Linked DNA regions of Homo sapiens: all the other regions are linked to region 4. The links are contacts of gene promoters, found by promoter capture Hi-C in blood cells and fetal thymus (Javierre and others, 2016). All regions are on one chromosome and are shown on one strand. The core of a region is centred on a gene start or on the middle of the fragment in contact, and the rest is flanking DNA. Distances in the headings are between cores, read along the strand shown.

Region 1 (4,659 bases), core at 231-2,730, 590 kb before region 4:
AAGTGATTCTCCTGCCTCAGCCTCCCCAGTAGCTGGGATTACAGGCATGCGCCACCACACTGGGCTAATTTTGTATTTTTAGTAGAGATGGGGTTTCACCGTGTTGGTCAGGCTGGTCTCGAACTCCTGACCTCAAGTGATCTGCCTGCCTAGGCCTCCGAAAGTGCTGGGATTACAGATATAAGCCACTGCACCCAGCCCTTTTTTTTTTTTTTTTTTTTTTTGAGATGGAGTCTTGCTCTGTCGCCCAGGCTGGAATGCAGTGGCGCAATCTCAGCTCACTGCAACCTCTGCCTCCTGGTTTCAAGCAGTTCTCTGCCTCAGCCTCCCAAGTAGCTGGGATTACAGACACCTGCCACCACACCTGGCTATTTTTTTGTATTTTTAGTAGAGATGGGATTTCACCATGTTGACCAGGCTGGTCTTGAACTCCTGACCTCGTGATCCACCCGCCTCGGCCTCCTAAAATGCTGGATTACAGGTGTATGCCACTGCACCCGGTTTTTTTTTTAATACAGGGTCTCACTTTGTCACCGAGGCTGGAGTGCAGTGGTGTAGGTCTTGGCTCACTGCAACCTCTGCCTCTCAGGCTCTAGTGATCCTCCTGCTTCAGCCTCCCAAGTAGCTGAGACCACAGACACACATCACCATGCTCTGCTACTTTTTGTATTTTTTTGCAGAGATGGGACTTTACTATGTTGCCCAGGCTGATCTTGACCTCCTGAGCTCAGGTGATCCATTGGCTTCGGCCCCCCATAGTGCTAGGATTACAGACATGAGTCACCATGCCTGGTCCCCTACTTCGGATTATTAAAAAATTTTCTCAGCCAGGCGTGGTGGCTCATGCCTATAATCCCAGCACTTTGGGAGGCCAAGGCGGGTGGATCACCTGAAGTCAGGAGTTTGAGACCAGCCTGGCCAACATGGTGAAACCTCATCTCTACTAAAAATACAAAAATTAGCCAGGCATGGTGGTGGGCTCCTATAATCCCAGCTACTCAGGAGACTGACTCAGGAAAATCGCTTGAACCCAGGAAGTGAAGGTTGCAGTGAGCTGAGATCACACCAGTGCACTCCAGCCTGGGCGGCAGAGTGAGACTCCATCTCAAAAAATGAAAAAAATTTTTTCTCAGGTGGTGGGTTCTAGGTGGGAAAAAAAATTCTCATTTCTTCTGTATTTTGTGGTTTCATAAATTTTTGATTCAGCTATAATTTATTTGAATGTAAGATGTGAGATAGAGATTTAAATTTATTTAATTCATTTATTAGAGTAGTAGGTTATCCATATGTCTTTGGTTGATCAATACATTAAAATTAAATGTCAGTTGAGACAGATCAAGGTTATATGACTTTTTTAATTAAAAGAAGCTTATTGATATTATAAAAATGTAAACTCTTCATAACTAGGACCAGGGTCTATGAAAATATATGGTCAACTGTAAAAGAATAGTATAATGGGAAGAAAGACAAATAGTATTATACGTTTTGAAGTCTACCTCATACTGTCTGACTTAATATTAATTGCTTTTAGTTTTATGCACAAGTCATCTCTAATTTTTAGTATTACTCAAACTGGAACCCAATTAAGCTTGGGAACAATGCTTATTTAAAAACAAAAATTATATCCCATAGGAGACATGTGGGGGGGAATTAACATAAACTAAACATTCTCAAAGGTAGCACATTTATTATAGTTAATAAATGAACTTTTTAATTAATTTGAGAGGCAGGTAGACAAAAGATCAATTGGTTGAATCAAACTTTAAAGAAAATTATTTGCATTAATGCCACATGATAAATATTGTACAGGTTTGTTTTTTTTGCCAGCTTAATAAATTATTAGAAAGCCACTTTACATTTAAAAAATTTCATGAGGCTGGATGTGGTGGCTCTCATCTGTAATCCTAGCACTTTGGGAGGCCAAGGAAGGAGGATCACTTGAGGCCAGGAGTTCAAGACAAGCCTTGGCAACATAGCAAGACCCCATCTCTACAAAAATAGTTTAAAAATTAGGCATGGTGGCACATGCCTATAGTCCTAGCTGCTTGGGAGGCTAAGATGGGAGGAACACTTGAGCCCAGGAGTTCAAGGTTATAGTGAGCTATGATCACACCACTGCACTCCAGCCCAGGTGACAGAGCAACACCCTGTCTCTCAAAAAAATAAAAACAAAAATAGATAATAAATAAAAACATCTTACGACAACTGAGCCAGAAAGACCAGAGGTGGTTGAGGTAATTTAATCAAGACCTGAACTACAGCAGTTGCCAGTGAAGAATAAAGAGACCTAAATGATAGACTTACCAGTGGATTTTTTTCAGTCATTCAGCATACGGTAACTGAGCTCCTGTTACCATGGTAGGTGCCAAGAATACCAAGATTTAATTTAGGGCAGTTGAGTGCCTAAGGATTTGTGATAGAGAATGTAGGTGGAATGGTGGGTTTGAGGGATGAGGTTGAGGGTTCTCATGTGGATAAATTGCATTCTAACTAAAGATTTTTATTAAGCAGTTAGAAATTTGGATCAGGAATTTAAGAAGCTAGTGAGAATATGAGTTGTATATATAAAGTGTGTCCTTATAGAGTGATTTTTTAAAACATAGAGTTAGTTGATAATATTAGAGGGTTAGAGCAAGTCTACAAGAGACTCAAGGGAATATCTGCGTTCAGGGATCAGGCAAGAAATTGATGAGGAACATGGAGTATTCAAAGTCAAGCAAGTGAAGGGAACACTTCAATAATGCTTGGAGTTATACTGTAGAGAAATTGAATTTAGGCCAGGCACAGTGGCTCATGCCTGTAATCCCAGCACTTTGAGAGGCCGATGCGGGCAGATCACTTGAGGTCAGGAGTTCAAGACCAGCCTGGCCAATATGGTGAAACCTCATCTCTACTAAAAATACAAAAATTAGCCGGGCATGATGGCGTGTGCCTGTAATCCCAGCTACTTGGGAGGCTGAGGTGGGAAAATTGCCTGAACTAGGAGGTGGAGGTTGCAGTGAGCCGAGATTGTGCTGCTGCACTCCAGCCTGGGTGACAGAGCAAGACTCCATCTCAAAAAAAAAACAAAAAAGAGAATTGAGTTTAGATGAGAAGGGGGAAAATGGGTAAGTACATCTTTGGTGTTAATTTGGAAAGCAGTTTAAGTGGTATGATGTTATGTCCTAGTGATCTAGGAATAAGAGGAAAGGATTAAGGAAGGAAAGACAGCAAGTTATTGATTAGTCTTTTAAGAAAGTCCCTACTCATGGATGTGAAGATGGCAACAGTAGACACCGGGAACTGCCAGAGCGGGGAGGGAGGGTGGAAGGAGACAAGGGTTGACAAACTAACTATTGGGCGCTGTGCTCACTGTGTGGGTGATGGGCTCATTTGTATCTGAAATCTTCACACCATCCAGTGTACACATGTAACAAACCTGCACATGTACATGTACTTCCTGAGTCCAAAATAAAAGTTGAATTTTTTTTTTTCAAAAGTGCCTGAGGAAAAAGATGAACTGTGGTTATTTTTGAAGGGTAATAAGACTTTTTTGAGAAGAGGCTGGGGCTGGGGTGGGATGGTGGACAGGGGAGGGATAGGAGCATGGACAAGGGAGAAGATAGGGAAGGTGCAGAGCTGTCTTAAGGCAGGGGAGAGGTGAGTTGTAGAAGGCACCGTGAAGTAGGTATCTTTTTTGAGAACAAGTTTGTGTAATTGTGTGGTTGTGGGGATTGAGGGGAATGACATTGGGCAGTCTGTCTCAAACAGTGCAGAGAATTCTCTTTTGGGGGATTGGAGGGAGGGGTGCCAATAATACTTAAACTTGTCCTACTGCAAAACCTCCTTTACCTCCCTTCACCAATTCACATGACATTGGCCAGAAGCAGCTGTACCAAGTGCAGGAACTCTCTGAAGGCTTGAGTTTTATCAATTCATGCAAAATCTACATTGTATGGATACTTTAATATTTATTTTTAAAAGTTTATTTTTCCCCACTAATGTTTAAGTAAAATTTATTCTTCAGAAAGAGTGTGCCATGTCTATTATATGGCTTCCAATATCCATGATGAAAACATCCCAGCTTGAGAAGCACTGATGAAGGCAACACTTCGGAATGTGGAAAGGATTGCTGAGCAGCGCCAGTTTGTGGGAGATGGTTTTTATCTTTTTGGTGCTGCTGACCTATAAGAGTAATGAAAAAATTCAAAAGTTGGGGGCCACATAATCGGAAAAAAAATTAATTTGTTCTTTGGTTTGCAGTTTGAGAGGGGAAGAAATACAAAGCTGGTTTTATCAGCTTTTTTTTCTTAATTGAAATTTTTTCAATATATTCCTTAAGTAATTTTTGTAAAATTATGGCAATTGGAGGTTGGAGTGAAAGAATGGACTAAGAAAAAAGACTGAGCTGTGACTAGAAAAGGACTGACATGAAGCAACAGATGTTATGTAGGTGAGAAATGAGCAGGAATTAGGCTTACAGAGAAGAAACAGGGAAGATTTTGTAGTATGTTCATGGTGCTGCTGATGTTATGTTTGTTTTATTTGTTTGTTCATTTAAGTAGAGGAGTTTATTTTGTGCCCTTACATCCCTAGGCCTTTTGCAGCCTCCTTCCCTTATTAATAGCACCTGACCCAATTTAGGATAAGCCTAAAAAAGGGCTATTCCCCATAGGGGCT
Region 2 (4,907 bases), core at 2,365-4,864, 570 kb before region 4:
TCTAAGTCCAAGTGAAAAAACATGCAGTGACCTTTATCAGGTTTAACTTTGCAAGGTACTTTGCAGAAATTTTAGTTGACTTTGAAAAGCCTTACCCACTTAGAACCAGTGCATCTCGCCTAACAGGGAGCTTTTGATGTACTTTATTCTTTAATGCTTACAGTGAGTACTTGTGAGGAAAATTCTGTACCTGATTGCATTAGTCTTGGATCATTTTTATAATCAGCTTTCTACTCCAGTTATTTCATTGCAATAAATCAGCCATCATGGTGAGCAACACACATTCTGAAAGTAGTAAACCAGCAGCAATGTCTCTACTTAGTTAATAAGCACTGTAGTTTTTGTTTGTTTGTTTGTTTGTTTTTAGACCGAGTTTCGCTCTGTTGCCCAGGTTAGAGTGTGGCTCACTGCAAGCTCCACCTCCTGGGTTCACACCATTCTCCTGCCTCAGCCTCCTGAATAGCTGGGACTACAGGCGCCTGCCACCACGCCCGACCAATTTTTTTTTTGCACTTTTAGTACAGACGGGGTTTCACCATGTTAGCCAAGATGGTCTGAATCTCCTGACCTCGTGATCCGCCCGCCTCGGCCACCCAAAGTGCTGGGATTATAGGCATGAGCCAGCGCGCCTGGCCAAGCACTATAGTTTTAAAAGTGCTTTTCACAGAGATTACCCACTGGCTACATCTGTGAAAAGTCACAGATATATGTGGGGAAAGACTTGTGACCAGGACACATGTATAAACTAGGCCCTTGGTTTATTTTTAAAACTCAGTGGGAGAAGTTCCCAGGCCATTTTCAGGGAGCTTGGTTCTCTATCCTACATGTCAAGGGAAAAGTGTTTTCTTCAGTAAACTCCAGAGAGTGAGGAAATGTTAAAGCAGTGAAGCTTGGGGTTGCCTTCCCATGCTTGGATTTAGGTATCCTGTTTTATTAATAGATGCCCAAGTTTGAGCGTTGAGTTATGCAGATTTTAAATATGCTTCTTTAGTTTGGTTTATTTCCATAGTTGCCTAGTGAATTTATCGACTTTTTTTATAACATAAAGTAATTTTTAAAATATCATTCATACAGAGTAAGAAATAACGTCTAATATTTCACGTGGAAGTTTTCCATTTGATTATGAAATTCAAGCCGGGTATGGTAGCTTACAATGGCAATCCCGACACCTTTAGCAGCAGAGGCGTAAACCCAGAATTGCTTGAGCCCAGGAATTTGAGACCAGTGTGGATTAATATAGCTAGACCCTGTCTTTACCAAAAATTTAAAAATTAGCTGGGTGTGGTGGCATGCACCTGTGGTCCCAGCCACTTGGGAGGCAGAGGTGGGAGGATCACTTGAGCCCAGGAGGTTGAGGCTGCAGTGAGCCATGATTGTGCCATTACATTCTAGCCTGGGCAACAGAGCAAGACCCCATTTCAAAAAAAAAAAGAAATTCAGTTAGAAGTGTCTTCTTTTTGACTACTCCATATTATTTCAGTGTTAGAAATTCTATTAGGATTCTTGGCTATGACTCTGTAAAAATAAATAAAAACTCATATAAGAGATCCCTGGTTGTGAAGCTTATGGTGGTTTTGTCTGACTTAGGGGAAATATGGCAAATGTTTTCTATTTCCTTTGTGTGTGTAGTGAAATATATATAACATAAAATGTACCATCTTGTCCATTTTTAAGTATATAGTTCAGTAGTGCAGTCATCCCTCAGTATCTTCAGTGAGATTGGTTTAAGGATCCCTGGGATACCAAAATCCTCAGATGCTTAAGTCCCTTCTATAAAATGGTGTAGTATTTGCATGTAACCTGTGCATATCCTTTTGTATACTTTAAATCAGCAGTCGCCAACCTTTTTGGCACTAGGGACCTGTTTTGTGGAAGACAGTTTTTCCATGGACCAGGGCAGGGGGTGCTGAGGATGATTTCGGGATGAAACTGTTTCATTTCAGATCATCTCAGGCATTAGATTTTCACAAGGAACACACAACCTGGATCCCTCACATGCGCAGTTCACAATAGGGTTCGTGCTCCTAAGAGAATCTAATGCCTCTGCTGCTGATCTGACAGGAGGCAGAGCTCAGGTGGTCGCTTGCCTCCTGCTATGCAGCCTGGTTCCAAACAGGCCATGGACTGGTATCACTCCGTGGCTCTGGGGTTGGGGACCCCCTGCTTTAAATTATCTCTAGATTATTAATACCTAATACAGTGTAAACACTGGTGTCTCATATAAGTGGAATCATACAGTATTTGTCTTTTTGTATCTGTCTTATTTCACTTAGCATAATGTCCTGCAGGTTTATCCATGTTGTAGCATATATCAGATTTGATTCCTTTTAAAGGCTGAATAATGTTCCATTGTATGTGTATGTGTATGCCGCATTTTGTTTATCCATTCATCTGTTTCTGTTTCCTTTTAGACTGTGAGAACATTCTCTTTGAAGGGAATGACTACCAAGCTCTTTGGTCAAGAAACTCCAGAGCAGAGAGAAGCCAGAATAAAGGTGCTAGAAGAACAAATAAATGAAGGAGAACAACAGCTAAAGTCTAAAAATCTGGAAGGCAGGTAAAGATGCTGCGATGTTTAAGTAAGCTAGGCTTGTAGACTATATGGTAGATTATTTTATTTATTTATTTATTTATTTTGGTAACAATTCCCAGCTTCATTGGCATCCCTGAATACAGCCTATTCCTTTAAAATGCATTCCTAAGAAATTTGAGTTATCACGCTGGGTGTGGTGGCTCACGCCTGTAATCCTGACACTTTAGGAGGCTGAGGTGGGAGGATTGCTTGAGCCTGGGAGTTTGAGACCAGCCTGGGCAACGTAGGAAGACCCTGTCTCTACAGAAATAAATAAATAAATAAATAAATAAATAAAAATAAAAGAAAGTTGAATTATCAAAAATAATGTTATAGAAACAGTTGTTTCAATGTGGGGGAAAGAGAAATAAAAGTTTCAACTTCATAATATTATTTTCCTGCACTATTCCTGATTTCTACCCTTTGTACTTTCCCTCCACCATTTCTTCTCCCCTCCCCTCCTTCAGTACCCAGCTGAAGTGTTACTTCATTGTGAAGCCTTCTCAGGCTATCACGGCATTTAATTCATGCCAGTATGGTATGGCAGTTTTGTATTAGATGATTGATTGTTCTGTGTGACTATCCCTGGCTAAATTTAAGCCCTTCAAAGTCAGTGATTGTATCTTTTCCACATTCACATCCCAGTGCCTTACATAGGGCTTAGCATGTAATTGTTACATAAGTATTTCTAGAAATTCAGTTCTCAGAGACCCACTATCACTGTTTGACTCATTTTTCTTATTTTTGTTTTCATCTGACAGTCAGTGAATAGACCAAGGCAGACCAAGAGTGTATTTTGGGTTTTGAGGTGGTTTTGTTCATTTTTAGAACTACTAGCACCAAATATGGCAAAGTAATAGATAGAATTAAAAAAGACAGGCCGGGCGCGGTAGCTCATGCCTGTAATCCCAGCACTTTGGGAGGCTGAGGTGGGTGGATCATGAGGTCAGGAGTTTGAGACCATCCTGGCTAACATGCTGAAACCCTGTCTCTACTAAAAACCAAAAAAATTAGCCGAGCGCGGTGGCAGGCGCCTACAGTCCCAGCTACTCGGGAGGCTGAGGCAGGAGAATGGTGTGAACCTGGGAGGTGGAGCTTGCAGTGAGCGGAGATCACGCCACTGCACTCTAGCCTGGGCGACAGAGTGAAACTCTGTCTCCAAAAACAAATACCTCTCGGGATTTTAATTTTTATTATTATTTTTCATTTTTTTGAGACGGAGTCTCACCCTGCTGCCCAGGCCGGAGTGCAGTGGTGCCATTGTTGCTCGCTGCCACCTCAAAGTCCAGGGCTCAAGTGATCCTCCCATCTCAGCCTCCCGAATCACTGGGACTACCGGCTACCAAGCCTGGCTAAAAAAGTTTTTAAACTTTGGTTGTGATTTAAAACAAGTACATGCAGCTGGCCGTGGTGGCTCACACCTGTAATCCTAGCACTTTGGGAGGCCTAGGAGAGTGGATTGCCTGAGGTCGGAAGTTCAAGACCAGCCTGGCCAACATGGTGAAACCTTGTCTCTACTAAAAATACAAAAAATTAGCCGAGTGCAGTGGCGTGTGCCTGTAATCCCAGCTACTCTGGAGACTGAGGCAAGAACCCTGGATGTGGAGGTTGTGGTGAGCCAAGATCACGCCTCTGCACTCCAGCCTGGGCTACAGAGCGAGACTTGGTCTCAAAAAAAAAAAAATGCTAAACGTGATTCATAATCCATCTTGTCAAAAGAGTGTATATTTTCCAGTGACCCCTGGAAGGCACTTACTTCATTGTGACTGACACCTGTTAGGTTTGTGAGCTGGCTTAAGGAGTCATCTATGTGTATTTTATAGGAATAATTTAAAGGTAGAATCCTTGTGGCAAAAACTTAGATTATTAGGCCAGGTGCAGCGGCTCACGCTGTAATCCCAGCAGTTTGGGAGGCTGAGGTGGGCAGATCACCTGAGCTCAGGTGTTCAAGCCCAGCCTGGCCAACATGGTGAAACCCTGTCTCTACTAAAAATACAAAAATTAGTTGGGCGTAGTGGCGTGTGCCTGTAATCCCAGCTACTCAGGAGGCTAAGGCAGGAGAATTGCTCAAACCCGGAATGCAGAGGCTGCAGTGAGCCAAGATCACGCCACTACACTCCAGCCTGGGCAACAGAGTGAGACTCTGTCTCAAAAAAAAAAGAAAAAGTAGATTAAAAGGTACAAGAATATATGACTGTCTGTTTGCTTTTTCCCTAACTATAATTTTTAGGAAAATAAAAAAACTGTCTTATACAAGCAATAACTCTTCCTTCTACATAGGCAATTAAAAACCAACGCCAATGAGAACTGGTTAACTTTTTAGTACACAGTTTAT
Region 3 (4,601 bases), core at 402-2,901, 680 kb before region 4:
TTGCTTAGTATTTATATTCCTTTGAGGAGACAAGTGTATTTTGGTTTACTTAACTATATCCCTGTGTTGAACATTGGATGAGTTAGGCTTAGCTATGAAATTTGGGTTAATTCTAGTGTTGGTAATCATAATTCTCAGTCAAATGAAACAGTTTGTTTCCAGTTTATACTACTTAATTATTTGCTTATTTTTAAGACAATATATTATATATTTTTTATTTTATATTTCTTCTCACTCTGTTGCCCAGGCGGGAGTGCAGTGGCACCATCATGGCTCACTGCAGCTCAACCTCCCAGGCTCATGCTATTCTCCTGCTTTAGCCCCCCAAGTAGCTAGGACTACAGGCACATGCCACCATGGCTGGCTAATTCCTTTTAGTTTTTGTAGAGATGGAGTCTGTCTGTGTTGCCCAGGCTTACTTAATTTTTTAAAAGTATGTCAAGTAACACAGCACTAGATATTAGATGCTCAATAAATACTTGATTAATTAAATACTAAATTTCATTTGTGGCCGGGCATGGTGGCTCACGCCTGTAATCCCAGCACTTTGGGATGCGGAGTCAGGCAGATCACCTGAGGTCAGGAGTTCAAGACCAGCCTGGCCAACATGGTGAAACTCCGTCTCTACCAAAAATACAAAAATTAGCCAGGCATGGTGGTGAGCACCTGTAGTCCCAGCTACCCGGGAGGCTGAGGCAGGATAATCACTTGAACCTGGGAGGTGGAGGTTGCAGTGAGCTGAGATTGCACCACTGCACTCCAGCATGGGCAATAGAGCAAGACTCTGTCTCAAAAAAAAAAAAAAAGGATAATACATTTCCTACTCCTACATTTCTGCTGTAGTAGTCTGAGCATCCCTTATTATAGCACTCTATAACCAAGCTTCTGTGAAACCTAGATCAGCAACTGAAATCAAATGGAACATTTTCCATTATTGATTAGGCATAGAATCCACTTTGTTAAACTAGTCGAGGGTAACAAGAGACATTTGAATCATTAACCGAGAAGATGACAGGTCTCCAAATGTGACCACTGTCTTCACTGGGTCAGTTATTATTTATTCAGTAGAAGAGTCTTTCAGTTTAAGTTGTATGGGGCTTTTTAAAAAATGATTTCGAAAAAGGACATGTATTTGCAATTCTTAAATTAGATCCGGGGGATTATTTTGATTGGTTAGACAATTGTTGCTGAGAGTAAGACTCGATCCCAAATTGAAACAAATCTTACTGTTTCACAGTCCCAGACTCCTCCTGTAGCTGTGCCTCTCTAAAGCCTAATTGCATATTTTTTAATCAGTAGAGGGACAAAGACAACAAATCAACTGTTAGGTTGGGAATATACTTCGTGATTCACAGACTTGTCCAAGAAGTAAATTCAGTCCTATTCAGGGTTGATTTCTTTTAAATAGTATCTGATATCAAGTTGCAAGTTGCTCTGTTGTAAAATACCCAATCATGGTGCTCATGCTAATGAGATATAAGTGGCTGTCTTGCAGGGTCTCTTAACAGGTTTAATTGCTTTTAGGCTTGTAGGCTCAAAACAAAATTGTTAAAATCCACATCTGCCGAACTTTCTAGATTATGAGCAAGTTTCAGCGAAAGTTTTCTCTTACTCCATCAGGAACGACAATCGAGTGGTTAGAACCAAAGATATCTTTATCAAACCACTATAAAAATGGAGCTGACCAGCCCTTTGCAACTGATCAGAGTAAGCCGGTGGCAGTCCCAGAAGAGCAGCCTGTTGCAGAATCTGGACTATTAGCGAGGGTAAGGTAATATAAAAATATGATTTTGATGTGAAAAATTAGGTATCACTGAAAAAGGGTCAGTTTTCTTTTCATTGTCAGCTCATGCACATCAACTTAACACCTGAGCAACACTCTTGAAGATTCTAAAACATTTTAAACTGCATTGTTTTTGAAGAGGTCTCTTATATTAAACTTGTTGAATTTTCCAGGTTAAATTATATGCCCTTTTAACTTTTAGTTTACTTTTGCTTGATAAAAATATATTTTAAAAATTGAAATTTATGTTTTTCTTTTTCTAGAAAATAACTTATCTAATGAGATTTGCACAATGTTTGTCTCTTATGTTTCTTAACCTATTATCTTAACATTATTTATTATTAAGTTTATAATCTTAAAAGTTGAGTCTTTTTCATAGTAAGCACTTTACCAAGCCAGTTGTTTCAAGTATTACCCTACTTAAAATAGCACATAATCTTAGGGTTTATATTTTTATAAACTATTATTCATTTCACATTTCTTAGAAGCTGAAGAGTGTTTTATTCTATTCATAATCTACCACTGTAACAAATCATATTGATATTTTTGCCTTTTGTGTTCACATCTGTTATTTTAAGCTATTTTTACTTGATAAGCATTTTCCTATGTTGTACTGGTCTGTATAATTAAAGCTTGAAATAGTCTATTGAGTTAATGTCCCTATTGTTGAATATCTAGATTGTTTGGAGGGTTTTTTTTTTAATTATAAATAACACTTTATTATCTTGTTTCCAACTTTTTCTCCTTTTTTTTTGAGATGGAGTTTCGCTCTTATTGCCCAGGCTGGAGTGCAATGGCACAATCTCAGCTCACCGCAACCTCCGCCTCCGGGGTTCCAGTGATTCTCCTGCCTCAACCTCCCTAGTAGCTGGGATTACAGGCATGCGCCACCATGCCCAGCTAATTTTGTATTTTTAGTAGAGAAGGGGTTTCTCCATGTTGGTCAGGCTGGTCTCGAACTCTGGACCTCAGGTGATCTACCCACCTCAGCCTCCCAAAATGCTGGGATTACAGGTGTGAGCTACCGCACCCGGCCTTCTCCTATTTTTTTTCTTAGGTTATCTCTTTAAGTTATATTACCAAGTAGCATTACTGAGTCAAGAGTAATGCATAGTTTATGGTACTTTATATATTCGTAAATTACTTCTTTAAAGAAATATATGGCACAGGGACTTCCAAAGTTGGCAAAAGTTTTGGCTTGATAAGACAGGCATTGCAGGCAAGGGTTGGCAGGGGAGAAGAAAAAACAATAATGTATAAAATGCTTATTTCTCTGTAGCTGTTTGACTGGCTTATTTGTAGAAACAGCAGTTAGTAAGTATTTATTAAGCTTAGTATATGGCAAGTACAATGCTAAGAATTAGAGGAGAAGCAAAAATTAGAAGATACAGGTTTTTCACTGAAGAGACTTATAATCTGCTTGGAGTCACAACATATACACTAAAATGAGATGATAATATAAAGCAATATATTTTTTTCTTAATTGATACCATGTAGGCTATTGGGATAGGGGCATTCAGAGAAAGGAAGAAGACATATTGAGTCGGGTACATGAGAAATGCTTTGGGGAGAAAGTGGGATTGGAATTGGGCTTTGAAAGGAGACAGGATTTGAAGGGAGGAGGAAGAGAATGGGAATCTCAAGATGAAGGACTAACACTAGCAAGGATCCTAAGGCATGTGTGTTTATTGAAGAGAAAGCTTGCCTGGTAATTTTGAACCCAGGATATGCCATTCACTGACATGTGAACCAATTAATTAACCACTCTTAGCTTCAACTTCCTCATCGGTAAGGTAGGGATAATATACTACCTTGTAAGATCCTTATGAGGATAAAATGAATTTAGTAGAACACCTGGCTTATGGGAAATGATCACAGTATTTTTGGATTTTACAACTCTGAATGGCACTATTCATGTTGTACTCTGTGGAATGAAGCTTCCAGGAGCACTGCTCCATAGAATGCAGTGTAAATTGTGCCTCCAAATAACATAAAAATAATGCAGAAGGGTTTAGTCTTAATGACAATAGCGTCATGATCATGGGTAAGAATGTACTATGTTTAAGAAGATTGGTACATGATACGACTTGGAATAAAATGTGAATAGAAGGATATGGAAGTAGACATGAAGGCAAATGAATAGATTATGTGCATTTCAAATGAAAAATCAATTGGATTTGTGACTGACTGGATATAGGTTTGGATCAAGTCAAGTCCCAAGTTTTTGACTCTCAGTGGTTAGATAAAATTGTATTGTCATTCACAAAGGAAAATTAGGAAGAAAGAGTCTTTTGAGAAAAAAGGTTTAGTATAATTATAAACATGTAAATTTTACAAGAGAGGAGGTTATGTGATTATAAATGTGTATAAAAAACAATTAAGGGGCCGGGTGTGGTGGCTCATGCCTATAATCCCAGCACTTTGGGAGGCCAAGGCAAGTGGATCACTTGAGGTCAGGAATTTGAGACCAGCCTGGCCAACATGGCTAAACCTCATCTCTACTAAAAACACAAAAATTAGCCAGGTGTGGTGGTGTATGCCTGTAGTCCCAGCTACTTGGGAGGGTGAGGCAGGAGAATCGCTTGAACCCAGGAGGTGGAGGTTGTAGTGAGCTAACACCACTGCACTCCAGCCCAGGCAACAGAGCAAGACCCTGTTTCAAAAAGAAAAAAGCAGTTAAGGGACCGGGCATGGTGGTGGGCACCTGTAATCCCAGCACTTTGAGAGGCCAAAGCGGGTGGATCGCTCGAGGTCAGGAGCTTGAGACCAGCCTGGCCAACATGGTGAAACTCCATCTCTACTAAAAATACAAAAATGA
Region 4 (5,039 bases), core at 1,189-3,688:
GCCTCAAGCTATCCACCCGACTGGGTCTCCCAAAGTGCTGGAATTACAGACATGAGCCAACGCGCTGGCCCCATTATTTATAATCACTGCCTCTCAAACTGGCATAAGAGTAGCTCCAAGGCCACTGACCTAAGAGACAGGTAGCTCCAAGATAAACCCAGGACAGCTCCTGTAAAATGTTTAGGGACAAGCGTTTTACATCAAAACAAACATGAGGATATTATAGAATATGTTAACCCCAAATATCTGAGACCAGTCTCAGTCAATTTAGAAAGTTTATTTTGCCAAGGTTAAGGATGTGCCAGTGACGGGAAGTCCTGACAATATGTACCCAAGGTGGTCGGGGTTACAGTGTGCTTTTATACGTTTTAGGGAGACATGAGACATCAATCAATATGTGTAAGACGTACATTGGTTTGGTTTTGTAAGGCAGGACAACTTGAAGTGGGGGCTTCCAGGTTAGAAGCAGATAAGAGACAAAAGGTTGCATTCTTTTGGGTCCTTGATCAGCCTTCCACTGAATACACAATTTAGTCTGGCTCAGTGAATCTGCATTTTTACATAAACAATAGGCCAGAGGGAGCAATCAGGTATTCATTTGTCTCAGGTGAGCCTCAGAGGGATGACTTTGAGTTCTGTCTGTCCTTTGTCCAAAAGGAATTTCCTGTGGGTAAATTGTGAGGGAGGTATGTAGCTTCTTAGCTATCTTAATTAGGCATAAAATGGGAGGCAGGTTTGCCTGACACGGTTCCCAGCTTGATTTTTCTCCTGGCTTAGTGATTTGGGGGCCCTGAGATTTATTTTCCTTTCACAAATACTATAAAGGAGCTTGCTATGGACTGCTGCATCTTTGCCCCCAGGCACACTATATTGTACTTCAAGAAGTTTACTTCCTCAGGCATTGAGGCACCACCTTGTTAGAGTTTGGGAGGAGGCCAAGAAATAAAGGTTAACATCCAAACTCCTTGAGCTGGGCAGTTAGGACAGTTTTCCACTGGGCCCTCCAAGCCATTCTTCCACCAGGTCCCTGGCCTGCAAAGGTGAGACCCCTTTGTTCTTTCCCCCTTACTGCTTCAGTTTTAGCCAAGCCATGCTGCACTTTTGAACGAGGCATCCTAGCTGTCACTTCCTCCAGCAGTTAACCCCTCTGTCCCTCGGTTCCTCAACTGGATAACAGTAGGGTTGTCGGAGGATGAAATGAGTTAATATGGGTAAAGGACTTAGAACAGTGCCTGGCTGGCAGTGTGCTCTCTGTACTTGGTAGGTATTCTATCGTTATTTTCCCCTACCTGAATGTCGCCTCTTCTCTTGCCTATCAACCACTCCACTCTAAACGCACTTGTAGCGAATCCAAGCCCAAGGCATCCTTTCCTGCACCATCTGAGGAAGACCCCACCCCACTCTTTATTGGCTAGTTCAGATCCAGCTTATATGTAAATGATAAGATGAAAGCCTGAGCATATGTTTTTGAGTCTATCAGTTTGATCATGGAAACTGACAGATTATCAGTAAGGACAACGAAATATAGCGGCATATTGGCCAGTCTCAAATCCTTGAAAGGTGCAAAAGTTAAAAAGTGAAAAGTGGGCCGGGCACGGTGGCTCGCACCTGTAATCTCAGCACTTTAGGAGGCAGACACAGGAGGAATGCTTGAGCCCAGGAGTTCAAGACTAACCTGAGCAACACAGCGAGACCCCCATCTCTACAAAACATGTAAAAATTGTCCGGGTGTGGTGGCGCGCGCCTGTAGTCCCAGTTACTCAGGAGGCTAAGGTGGAGGAACCTTTGAGCCCAGGAGGTCCAGGCTGCAGTGAGCCAAGACTGGGCCAGTGCACTCCAGCCTGAGTGAGAGCAAGACGCTGTCTCAAAAAAAAAAAAAAAAGAAAAGAAAAAGAAATGTAGGTTTTACTTGTGCCTCCACGCCCCACCACGCCCTCCCTTGCTCATCCAGAAGTCGCTTTGCGGTTCCACGCGCGGGCGTCTACGTCCCATCTCAGGCCGCCGGCAGTGAGGCTTTGGGAGGATGAGGCGGTACCGGCACGACCCCCGTACCTGCTCTCCCTCTCGCAGTCTAGCAACCGCCTTTGGCCCAAGTAATCTCGGCTCGCCTAATACAGCGTGCCCCGCCCCTTTCCCGTGGCGACGGGCGGCTAAGCAACGGGAGCGGGCTCTACTCAGTGGTTTCGAGCCCCCCACGCCCCAAGTGAGTCGCAAGCGACTTCCACCTGGGCCCGTAGGGCCTCCGCGTCCCGGGCCGGTCCCCGCACAGGGCGGAGCTGGCCCGGCCCGGAGCTCGCCCCGCCCCGCCTCACCGTAAGCTGACCGTGTGGCGGCCGGGCGAGGGCCTGGCAGGGGAGAGAAGGGGAGGAGAAAGGAGAGGAGGAAAGTGGAGCCTGGCGGGCCGGAGGGAGGAAGGGAAGGGGCGGAGGCCAGGGGCAGAGTGTGCCGGCGCGCGGGGGAGTCTCGGCGCTGGGCGCGTCTCGGAGCCCAAGTCGCGGCCGCCGAGCGGAGCCAGCCCCTCCCCTACCCGGAGCAGCCCGCTGGGGCCGTCCCGAGCGGCGACACACTAGGAGTCCCGGCCGGCCAGCCAGGGCAGCCGCGGTCCCGGGACTCGGCCGTGAGTGCTGCGGGACGGATGGTGGCGGCGGGGCGCGGGCCAGCGCGGGCGCCGTGAGCCGGAGCTGCGCGCGGGGCATGCGGCTGCGGCCCCCGGCCCTCGGCCCCCGCGCTCCGGCCCCAGCCCCGGCCGCCGGCCCCCGCGGAGTGCAGCGACCGCGCCGCCGCTGAGGGAGGCGCCCCACCATGCCGCGGGCCCCGGCGCCGCTGTACGCCTGCCTCCTGGGGCTCTGCGCGCTCCTGCCCCGGCTCGCAGGTAAGCCGCGCCGCCCACGGCGCCCAGAGAAACTTTGTCGCACACTCAGCCGCGGGCGGGCGTCTCGGAGGGGCGGGGAGCGCAGGCGGTGCCTGAGGGCGGAGGGCGCCTTCGGGGCACTCCCTGGTGGGCCAGTCGCTGGGGGACAGCCCCGCGGGGCGCTCCCCGCGCGCAGCCCCGCCGGGCTGTCGTGAGTCTCCTGTTCCCTCCCGGGCTGAGGAGGAGCTTCCCTTCCTGTGTAAACAGGCTGGCCGGCCTGCTGACCTAGCCCGCCAGGGCCCGCGCCCAGGGCACGGGGAGGACCGCCGCCAGCCCTGCCTTGGGGCCCGGGCTCTCCGTTGGCGGGCACAAAGCGGTCCTTGTGGCCGGCCGGGAGCGGGCGGGCTGCTGGGGGGATGCCGTCGGTGCCCTGTTCCCGGAGAAGCAAGGGAGTCTCGAAACCCCAGCCAAAGCCCGGGGCCACCTCCACTCCGGAGGGCTCGCCTCCTGGAACAGCGGGTGCACAGGGCCCACAGCGAATCCTGGAGTTCGCTGCGCCTAGGCTAGCCGCCTGCCTTTGAAGATGCAGCCCCCACCCTCCCCGCCCCCCGCCTGCTTCCTCCTCGCCTAGGCCACCGCAAACCCGAGGGGGCACCCGCGTCCCAAACCACAGCCCCACCTGGGACTTCCCTATTAAATTCCTTCTGCCCGACTTTATCCCGCGATTTGCACACGCTCGGAGCCTCACACTCCCCTAACTGTGGAGGATTCTGGAGCAGAGGACAGGGGCTGTGGAGATTGCCTTAGCCCGACGCTGCGGTGGGCTGGCAGCGTTGCAAGGATCCCTCGGTTACCTGCTCTAACTTTTCAGAGTTGGGAGATGATTGGACGTGGTAGTTTGGAGGCCCTCGAGGAAGGATGCACTTGTTTGGGATGCGGATTTTCTCCTTTCTTTTAGGAAATAATAGTGCTCTATTAACTTTCAAGCCGGAGATACTTGATTGCTCTTGTGAGCCAAGTGGTTGCCTGGCTGCCCGAAGGGAGGACTGTTCCCCCACGGTGTCTCATTTACATGAAGGCAGTGGAGGTTTAGGTTTAAGAGCGGAGGAGGGGTCTGAGCAAACAATAACTTCGTTCAGACCCTAATTCAAACTTAATACTGTAGCAAGGTTTTTGGTTTTTGTTTTAAATGGGAAAATAATCACTCCAGAGCTTGGAGAGTAGATGAGTGGATTCCAAACACCCATCCGGCAGCCAGTGCCCATCACGGATATTTTCATGGGTCCCTAGGGAAAGCGAGGAGCAGGAAGATGTAGCCTGCATCACACAGGAATGTATTGTTGTCAACGCTCCCCTGCTCCACAAGGACTTTCCTTTAGTTTGAAATTAGGCACTTTTTCTTTTTTTGGTGGGAACATTTTCTTTTAATACTTCTTAATAATATTAGTAGTTTTTAATTTTGGCAAAATAAGAAAATCTGACAACCCTATGTTAAGCTCCCCTTCTCTTTTTCTGTTTGTTTCTTTTGTTTTGTTTTTAAATCTTAGTTTTCTTTGAAATCCAAAAGTTCAGAAACTGCCAAAGGAGATGGCTTTTAAGTTCCTTTCCAGCTTGACATTCTGTAATTCTGACAAACAGAATTATAATAATAATTTCTAGTTGCAAATAATTTTTTTTTTTTGAGTCAGAGTTTCAGTCTTGTAGCCCAGGCTGGAGTGCAGTGGTGCCATCTCGGCTCACTGCAACCTCCACCTCCCAGGTTCAAGCAATTCTCCTGGCTTAGCCTCCCAAGTAGCAATGATTACAGGCGCTGCGACCATGCCCGGCTAATTTTTGTATTTTTAGTAGAGATGGGGTTTCACCATGTTGGCTGGGCTGGTCTTGAACTCCTCACTTAAGGTGATCTAACTGCCTTGGCCTCCCAAAGTGCTTCAATTACAGGCATGAGCCACCACGCCTGGCTGCGAATAATTTCTAAAAATACATTATTTTCCACTTGCATCTTGCTTTCTCTTTTTCAGAGTTCACGTACATCTTCACGGTGATGTCCATTTTCTCATATGGGCTCAGGAAGGAAGTGACTTGCCCTTCCCCTCTACTTGGGTCAGGAGTGGTGGACCAGGGACCATGGCTTTTGGTCCAGTGCCCTTTGTCCTACCGACTCAGCTTAAGGAAGAGAAAAGCACTG

What was found. Contacts are between HindIII fragments. The CHiCAGO score rates a contact against its expected background, and 5 or more counts as called.
Region 1: a fragment that was not itself captured here is called in contact with the fragment with the promoter of ITGB5 in region 4 in 2 of 17 cell types (total CD4 T cells and naive CD4 T cells); the score reaches 6.0 in total CD4 T cells.
Region 2: a fragment that was not itself captured here is called in contact with the fragment with the promoter of ITGB5 in region 4 in 6 of 17 cell types (activated CD4 T cells, fetal thymus, total CD8 T cells and 3 more); the score reaches 9.0 in activated CD4 T cells.
Region 3: a contact is called between a fragment that was not itself captured here and the fragment with the promoter of ITGB5 in region 4, in 1 of 17 cell types (fetal thymus). The highest score is 5.2, in fetal thymus.

Annotation. Positions count from the first base shown.
Region 1 is chr3:125,471,831-125,476,489 of GRCh38, reverse strand. All of the region lies in intron 8 of SNX4 (sorting nexin 4), which reads left to right. Among named protein-coding and RNA genes, the nearest start is that of SNX4, 46 kb to the left of the region's middle. The HindIII fragment of the contact is 220 bases long and covers 1,371-1,590 here.
Region 2 is chr3:125,451,460-125,456,366 of GRCh38, reverse strand. SNX4 (sorting nexin 4) reads left to right here. Exons shown (of 14, transcript NM_003794.4): 12 at 2,412-2,557. Among named protein-coding and RNA genes, the nearest start is that of SNX4, 66 kb to the left of the region's middle. The HindIII fragment of the contact is 4,100 bases long and covers 1,565-4,907 here.
Region 3 is chr3:125,560,863-125,565,463 of GRCh38, reverse strand. It overlaps OSBPL11 (oxysterol binding protein like 11), which reads left to right. Exons shown (of 13, transcript NM_022776.5): 7 at 1,621-1,766. Among named protein-coding and RNA genes, the nearest start is that of OSBPL11, 32 kb to the left of the region's middle. The HindIII fragment of the contact is 1,533 bases long and covers 885-2,417 here.
Region 4 is chr3:124,884,764-124,889,802 of GRCh38, reverse strand. It overlaps ITGB5 (integrin subunit beta 5), which reads left to right and starts at 2,438. Exons shown (of 15, transcript NM_002213.5): 1 at 2,438-2,872. The coding sequence starts at 2,803. RefSeq lists enhancers at 178-1,062, 1,063-1,945, 3,714-4,598 and silencers at 2,060-2,499, 2,960-3,049. The HindIII fragment of the contact is 6,734 bases long and covers 1-5,039 here.